Linked DNA regions of Homo sapiens: all the other regions are linked to region 2. The links are contacts of gene promoters, found by promoter capture Hi-C in blood cells and fetal thymus (Javierre and others, 2016). All regions are on one chromosome and are shown on one strand. The core of a region is centred on a gene start or on the middle of the fragment in contact, and the rest is flanking DNA. Distances in the headings are between cores, read along the strand shown.

Region 1 (2,888 bases), core at 272-2,771, 2.1 Mb after region 2:
TGGTGAGGCTGGTCTCGAACTCCTGACCTCGTGATCTGCCAGCCTTGGCCTCCCAAAGTGCTGAGACTACAGGCATGAGCCACCGTGCCCGGCCAAAAATTACATTAGTTATTTTTAAGTGACAACCCCTAAGACCAAATTTCAGCCTCTTGTGAAACCTAAGAATATACTTTGAAACCAACGGGATTATTAATAGGACGTTAGGTAATAAAATGAATTAAAATTAAGTACTTCTAGGAGAATTGGGCCAAAGTCAAAACTGAAGATCTGGCGGCTACAAGACCACATCCAGTTTATGGTACTATGTGTTTAAGTATCCAATGTAATAAGTTAACTGGCTGTGATAAAATAAAAAAAAATTAGAAATCTAGGGAACTGTGCTTCTGTTTGTAGTTCTTTTTAGACCAAAACTTAATTATGAACATAGGTGGGGGAATCCTTTTACTAACAGGATTAGTGACAAACAAGGAATGGAAAATAAGGCATGCGCAAATGAAAAGTTATGAATTTGATATTATGGAATCTGGAGGGGGAGGAAGAGGAAAATATGTGACATTCTTCTCCTGTATTTTTTTTTTAGTGCTGGAACAGCCTGAAAAATTCAGCTGTGTCTCAATTTTTTTCCCTCATACATTTTTCTATTCTAATATTTAATATTTAACATGTAATATTTTTCTAATTAGCTTTAGATTATTAGAATTCTGATTTATGGCTTGTAGGAGGACACATCTTCTTTCTTCCTAACATTTTATAACATGTGAATACTAGAGAAATTTCATTAGGACACATTAGGACACATTATTTTTCCTGTATGTTCATTTTCTGAGGTCAAAGCCTTACTTTTCGTCCCCAGGTTTCTCCGAAAGAACTGTAGTGTCTGGATTTGTTGGCGTATCCCAGGATCTAACTTGATTTTTGAACTCTCTCCTCATTTTCAGTGCTCGTTGGCCTCCAAGCGCTTGCATAGTAAGCCCCCTCCTCATACACATTTTAAAAAAGGGAACATGGCCGGGCATGGTGGCTTATGCCTATAATCCCAGCACTTTGGGCAGCCAAGGCAGGCGGATTACCTGAGGTCAGGAGTTCAAGACCAGCCTGGCCAACATGGTAAAACCCAGTCTCTACTCAAAATACAAAAATTAGCCAGGTGTGGTGGCGCATGCCTGTAATTCCAGCTACTCTGGAGGCTGAGGCAGGAGAATTGCTTGAACCCAGGAGGCAGAGGTTGCAGTGAGCCAAGATCATGCCACTGCACTCCAGCCTGGGTGACAGAGCAAGACAATCTCAAAAAAAAAAAAAAAAAAAAAAACACACAAAGAGACTCAACAAACACAAGAAATATATTCACTTGTTTCTTAGTAAGAGGAGAGAAAGAGGGGGGACTGTTATGCTAAGCAATGGCCTTGGAGCTTTCAAAACATTATTTAATTTTCAAACCCAACAACCCAGCAAAATAGGGATTGTAAGTTACCCCCATTTTAATGAATGAGGCCCTATCCCACCAGGCAGTGCTGTTAATTTGCCCCAAAGCAAAAAGCTGGACAGGCAGCCTGGCACCAGAATCTGTTTCCAATCTACCACACAGTAGAGCAAAGGAAGCAATCTTGGAAATCACCAATTAGATACTCAGAGAAACAGAGCAGGAAATACACGTGCTTGGAACATGCTTGCAGAGAGACCCACAGAAAAGGCGGAAAACAACTTTACATTTGTCAAGTTTTTTTTTTTTTGAGACAGGGTCTTACTTGTCACCCAGGATGGAGTGTACTGGCTCGATCATTGCTCACTGTAACCTTGAACACCTGGCCTTAAGCAATCCTCCTGTCTCAGCTTCCTCTACAGGCATGTGCCACCACGCCTGGCTAATTCAAAAAAATTTTTTTTTTGTAGAGATGCAATCTCTCTACGTTGCCTAGGCTGGTCTTAAACACCTGGCCTCAAGCAATCGTCCCACCTTGGTCTCCCAGAGTGCTGGGATTACAGGCATGAGCCACTGCACTCGGCCTTCAACTATTTTTTACAAAGATGGAAATGTCAATTCTTTTTTTTTCCAGGCTGGAGTGCAGTGGTATGATCTCGGCTCACTGCAATCTCCACCTCCCAGGTTCAAGCGATTCTCCTGCCTCAGCCTCCGTAGTAGCTGGGATTACAAGTGATCGCTGCGCCCGGCTAATTTTTTTGTATTTTTAGTAGAGATGGGGTTTCGCCATTTTGGCCAGGCTGGTTTTGAACTCCTGACCTCAAGTGATCCGCCTGCTTCGGCCTCCCAAAGTGCTAGGATTACAGGCATGAGCCACTATGCCCAGCTGGAAATGTCAATTCTATCATTAGCAAAAAATGGAATCCCTTCTGAAAAATTATTTGGAGAGTTAAATGAAATTCAACTTAGGAACTAAGTTATTCTACTCCAAATTTACTTGACTCAATTGGAATTATTAACACGTGAAAGACCTACAAGAAATTTATGACTGATGGAATTAAAGCCTAGGAAAAAGAAGTGTATAGCATTCATCTACACACTAGGTTAATGAAGCAGAAGACAAACATGTTAAAAACAGGAAGAAAAAAACTTAGCAAATGCCATGCCAATAGACCATACATTTCTCGCTGCAAACTTACCCCTGGCTAGGTTCTTCATATACACATGATCACAAACATGAAAACCTAGATTACAGGATCCTTTAGACACTAAGGCTCAGAACATTCAACATGATTCAATTTATAAAAATAAAAAATGATCCAAGAATATTCACTGCATGTAGCATCAAGTCTGCTTATTCACTCAAAGTAATGAAAGTGAAATGTTTTCAAGTCCTCGTATATGAAGTGCACTAAAAAAAACCTTCATGCATCTCCAGTATTCTCATGATGGAACTGGCAGGATGGCT
Region 2 (2,700 bases), core at 127-2,626:
TTTAAGGAAAATCACTTCAAAGAAACATCTTTTTAATATTTATTTATTTTGTTAGGTGGCTTTATGAAAGTGATATAAAATCTTCTCTATTTAAATTTTGAAAAGTGAGATAAAATATCTAAATAATATGGTTAATAAAGAGTTATGGCAAATACATTGATGTTGGTTATAACTGACTGCAGTTCTAGAAATCTGCATAAATCTTTTGTTGAAAGTAATATCTGCATTGGTAGACGTGATATTACTACATACATAAATATATATTTTCCCCAAACACCAAAAGAGCTTTGCAACTGTGGAAATTATCCTAACAAATGAGCTGCCAAGTCATGTCATTATACATTTGTCCAACCTCATAGAATGTACACCAAGAGTGAACCCTAATATAAACTATGAACTTTGGGTGATAATGATGTGTCAATGTAGGTTCAAGATTGTAACAAATGTACTGCTCTGGTGGAGGATATTTTTAAGAGTTGGAGGCTGTTAGAGGAGGGAAGAGGTACAATAATTGATAGCAGGAAGCTGTGGAGGGAGGAAATCTCTGTGTCTTCCACTTAATTTTGTTGTGAACCTAAAACTTCTCTAAAAATGTCTATTAAAAAAAATTCTCTTAACCTTTGCTTTTCAGTTTTTGAGGGCAGGTTAAGTATTATAACAGCTAACATCTACTGAGCATTTGTCTTTAATCCTAGTGAAACAGATGTTATTAGCCTTGTTTTATAGTTGAGGACATTGAGGCTAAGAAAATTTAACTAGAGTAATTAAGGCACACACAGAATTTAAACATGTTTCTTATCACAAGACTGAGTTGTTTTCCAGTTACTCTATTTATATTTTTTCCTAATATCTGGCTTCAAAGTACCTTCTGTTATTTTTAATTCCAAGCCTTAGAGTTAATTATTTGGGCACCTTAGAATTATTTGGGCACAACTGTCCCGAAACCAGAAACGAGGGGGCGTGGACCCAGAGACTACTAGAATGCAATGCTCGAGGCATTGCAGCCTAAAAGGGCGGCAGCTCGCCCCGTCGCATGCTGGGAATGGTAGTTTCCTCGCTCTCCCTTCTTCCCCCGCCCTCGAGCATCCAGATTGGAGCTCCGTTCTTACTCCCTTGCAGGGCGCCACGGCTCGACAGAGCCACTCGTCCTCGCCTGGTCATCCCAGTTCCGGAGGCTGACCTGGGGATGCGCCCTGGACGCCCTGCACCGCAGTCCTTGCGTCGCTGCTAGTCAGCACGGCGTTACCCACCTCATCCGCAGCTCCAGGACGCCGCACTCCACGCGCTGCCGCAAGGAGGACGCGCAGCCTGGTCACCATGGAAACGGTGCCGCCTCCGTCACGGCTCAAGCGAGAGGTCAAAGGTCAGTCCTGCAAGTTCCGCTTCCGGTTCCGAGATCCTGTTTGTTTTCTGAAAGCTTTGTGGTTTCGGTGAGCTCTCAGAGCCGATTTCTAGCGTCCGTGCCGGGGACAGGTGTCCAGAGGTCGACTGCTGCAGACATGGCGGCCTCCACCGCGGCCGGGAAGCAGCGGATTCCCAAAGTGGCCAAGGTAGGCGATCGCGAGGGGCCTTGTAGGAGGTGGCCTAGGAAAGGGGCATCCCTCAGCCCTGAGGGTGCCCGGGTTGGGAGAGAGTGTTCCCGCCGGGGAGAAGGCTCACCCTGAGAGATGGAGAGGAAGGGCAGCTGGTGGTGGGGCGCGGGCTCTTGTCATCGCGGAGCACGACCCGCGTTGGCGTGGCCTTCGTTCTGGGGTGGTTTTGCTGGGGAGTGGAGTGGGGTGGTTCGGTGAAGATTTACTGAGCCAGGCACTGCACTGGGCGCTGGGAAGCTACGCTCGTACGCTGGCCACAAGCAGTACTCAAAACACGAGTTTCTGTATAAAGACGACCTTGCTAGATGTTACCGAGAGGCAAAGTAGAATATGCCATGGGCGTGAATAAGGGGGTCGTATGAAGGGGTCCTGAAAGTAAATTTTGCTGAGGAAATGACCTTTAAGCTGAGACTTGAAGGCTGAATAGGAGTTAGCCCAGCTGACAGCGGAGGGCGAGAGTAGACGGTAGGAGTAGTATAGTATCATAAGTTAATTAAACAGTAGACTTACTATCTGGTATTTCCTTTGATAGCTAATACTTACCAAGTGCTTAATATGTGGCAGACTTTGAAGCCTTTACAGATACCCTCCCTCCAGTCTTTCTTGAGCCCGGATGACTCTCTTGAACTGGACCTTTACATAACTATTTGTCTGACTCGCAGGAGTAATGCATATAGAGCAAGTAACACTGTGTCTGGCACTTAGTGCTTATTAAATATGAGCTATCACCATTATCATCATTACTCCACATGTGGCATTAAGTAACATTTTTTATAATTCAGCTACATAAACTTTTATTGGGCATCACTGGTCCAATGGAAATATAATGCACACCACATATGAAATTTTAAATTTTCTCATATCTACATTAAAAAGTAAAAACAAAGCAAAAAAGTGAAATTAATTTTGATAATATATATTTTATTTGAGCTAATGTATCCAAAATATTATCATTTCAACATGTAATCGGTATAAAAAATGTAATGAGGTAGTTTATTCTTTTTTATACTTCATCTTCAAAACCAATGTGTATTTTACACTTACAGTCCACCTCAATTTGTACTCACCACATGTGACTCATAGCTACTGTGTTGGACAGCACAGCTCT
Region 3 (2,700 bases), core at 23-2,522, 2.1 Mb after region 2:
CTGGGCTTATTGTGAGTCTTTTAGAAAATCAAATAAGCTAGTTCTTTCTGCCTTGCTATGCATTAGTTTAAAAGAGACTTATATCCACTTTTTTTAATGGATTGTGAAAAGTTAGATTTCATCTACCTACTGGAGTATTTGCTGACTGTCAAGTGGAAAGTATGTGAAGGAATAGTGTTACAGCTTTGAGGTGGTGCATACAGGCTTACATTATTTACATTGTAAAGGGGTGTGAACAGTGTAATGACTTTAGTCTTACCTACCTTTAGGTTTGGTTTTTCTCTGGTATGTTTTTTCCTATGTCAGTAGAATTGATTTCTAGGAAACACTGCTATTGGTAATAGTTTGTGATAAGATTTCTCAAAAGTTGCTGAAGGAGGCCATGCCTTTAATCCTAGCACTTTGGGAGGCCAAGGTGGGTGGATCACCTGAGCTCAGAATTTTAAGACGTGCCTGGGCAACATGATGAGACCCTGTCTCTACTAAAAATACAAAAAATTTGCTGGGCGTGGTGGTGCGTACCTGTAGTCCCAGCCACTGGGGAGGCTGAGGCATGAGAATCGCTTGAACTTGAGAGGCAGAGGTTGCAGTAAGCCGAGGCCGTGCCACGTCACTCCAGCCTGGGTGACAGAGCGAGACTCTTTCTCCCAAAAACAAAAAAAGTGCTCAAGGAGGCAGTTTTCAGCCCTTGATTGTTATTTCTTGGCGGCAGGAACAGACTTAACTGATTTTAAAGGAGATTTCCACGCGTTTTGTCCTGCCAGGCAGACTGAAGAAGCTCTCCAAATGATGATTGCTTAATCATTAAACAAAATTAATACCGAAGCTTATATTTAGATATGTCTTTCATTCAAAATTAGAGTCCTTGATTATCCTTTGGGATTAGGAAAAAATTCCTTTGGAATACTGAACACTTTATAATCTTGATGGCTCATCTTTGGTGCTTAGCATTCGTTGTACTAGTTTTAGGCGAACACTGAAGCAGTATAGACACTGTTGTGCTCTGAACAATTGTCTATAATGGATAAACTGAACAAATGATTGCCATCAAAGTGAATATGCAACTCTCAGGAAGACACCTCATTTTAAATGTCCAGAAGAGTTAAGGAAGGTTAAGAAAAAACAGGAGTTGACTTTTAAATAGCCCCACAGGAGTGGAGTGGTTGTCTCCTGTGGACCAGCAAGAGTAGAATGAGGCACCAACTAGAAAACATCGCTGCTGGGACAAGAGGCTCATGAGTTCCTGCCTCTGCTGCAGATTCCACCTGCTCCTACGAAGCCCGACTTTGATGGTCCTCGAGAGAAGATGCAGAAACTGGGAGAAGGTGAAGGGTCTATGACCAAAGAAGAATTTGCCAAGATGAAACAAGAACTGGAAGCGTAAGTGGATTTTCCTGGTGGGCTCTGTCTTTTGAGAAGTAGAAAAGTGGTGCTGTGTACAAAAATAAGTAGAAGAACCTGACTTAATTTTGTTTTAAGTGCAGCTGTTTAATTAGGTCCCTAGCGTCGTTTTCTAAAACTAGTAATACATCTTGCATAGTGTGGGACATGGTCTTTGTACTTCACACATTGATTCATTGGAGGCCATTGACACTAATACCCGATAGAGTAGTTGTCTTTTCCCATATGTAGGGCATACTTATTAAGGATGCTGGTCTGGCACAGTGAGGAAATAAACTTTTGTGCCTTTATAAATTGCTCATAATGTACAAAGCTTTTCTTTCGGAAGCTTGGTTACTAGACGTTGAGAAGAAACTAGAGAGTTGGGGGTTTCGTCATGTGTTGCCCCGGCTGGTCTCGAACTCCTGAGTTCAAGTGATCAGCTTGCTTTTGCCTCCCATAGTGCTGAGATTATAGTGAGCTGCCCCTGGGCCAGGCCAAATAGTGCTGTTATAGAGTAGCATTCTCAGTAACCATCACATAGATAATTTGAAAGAGGAAGTCCAGGTCTACAGGCAGCAAGTATATTTTAATCTGGTTGTCATTTAATTTTTTCAAACAAAAATAGATTTTTGGAAAGTTTCTTATGAATCCATCCTTGCATTTCCTCATCTTAGCTGAAAAGTACTCATTCCTCCCCTCTTCAACCATCAGCTCCCCCTCTCCAAACCCCTGTGTCATCTAGGGCAGCACTCAAACCTCCAGGCCCTGAAAGCATTTAGCACACACTTGAGTGGCTCTCGGGACCAGCTCTGGGGAATGAGGCACTGAACACAACAGATCCAAGTTTCTACCGTTAGGAATTTTAAGGTGACTTTTAATGTCTAGGTTGAGATAAAGCTGCTTTGTAATTTTTGTTAACTTTTAGCTTCATTAGACTCATGCTGTATACTTAGGCTGCAGTTAAAGGGTTCTCATTGCTTTAAAGAAACAAATGTTCTGTGGCTACTAAGTAACAGTAATTGCATGTAGATTTAGGAGCTCATGGACTTGACCCATCAAATCCAGTTACAACATTGCTTTCCTCCATAGTCTTATTCCACAGATTCAAAAATGGCAACTGCCTTAGTATCTAACTAGACACCAGTTTATACTGAAATACTGTTTGGTCCAGTTGCAGTGTTTTATGTGGTGGCATGAGCAGGGCCATAGAATTAATCAGGAGTGGTATTGGTCAGGTAGTTGAGCTGTGTCAACTGAATGCCATGTGCACATCTCTTTTCAGTGAGTATCTCGCTGTGTTTAAGAAGACTGTGTCCT

The links. Contacts are between HindIII fragments. The CHiCAGO score rates a contact against its expected background, and 5 or more counts as called.
Region 1: a contact is called between a fragment that was not itself captured here and the fragment with the promoter of CRNKL1 in region 2, in 3 of 17 cell types (naive CD4 T cells, naive CD8 T cells and total CD8 T cells). The highest score is 6.1, in naive CD4 T cells.
Region 3: a fragment that was not itself captured here is called in contact with the fragment with the promoter of CRNKL1 in region 2 in 1 of 17 cell types (total CD4 T cells); the score reaches 5.3 in total CD4 T cells.

Annotation. Positions count from the first base shown.
Region 1 is chr20:17,972,483-17,975,370 of GRCh38, reverse strand. All of the region lies in intron 2 of MGME1 (mitochondrial genome maintenance exonuclease 1), which reads right to left. Among named protein-coding and RNA genes, the nearest start is that of MGME1, 4.9 kb to the right of the region's middle. The HindIII fragment of the contact is 5,566 bases long and covers 1-2,888 here.
Region 2 is chr20:20,051,142-20,053,841 of GRCh38, reverse strand. It overlaps CRNKL1 (crooked neck pre-mRNA splicing factor 1), which reads left to right and starts at 1,376. Exons shown (of 14, transcript NM_001278628.2): 1 at 1,376-1,550. The coding sequence starts at 1,500. It overlaps CFAP61 (cilia and flagella associated protein 61), which reads right to left and starts at 1,310. Exons shown (of 27, transcript NM_015585.4): 1 at 1,251-1,310. RefSeq lists a silencer at 902-951 and enhancers at 1,042-1,341, 1,352-1,521. The HindIII fragment of the contact is 2,238 bases long and covers 1-1,419 here.
Region 3 is chr20:17,952,676-17,955,375 of GRCh38, reverse strand. It overlaps SNX5 (sorting nexin 5), which reads left to right. Exons shown (of 13, transcript NM_014426.4): 3 at 1-11; 4 at 1,259-1,380; 5 at 2,666-2,700. Among named protein-coding and RNA genes, the nearest start is that of SNORD17, 8.9 kb to the left of the region's middle. The HindIII fragment of the contact is 888 bases long and covers 829-1,716 here.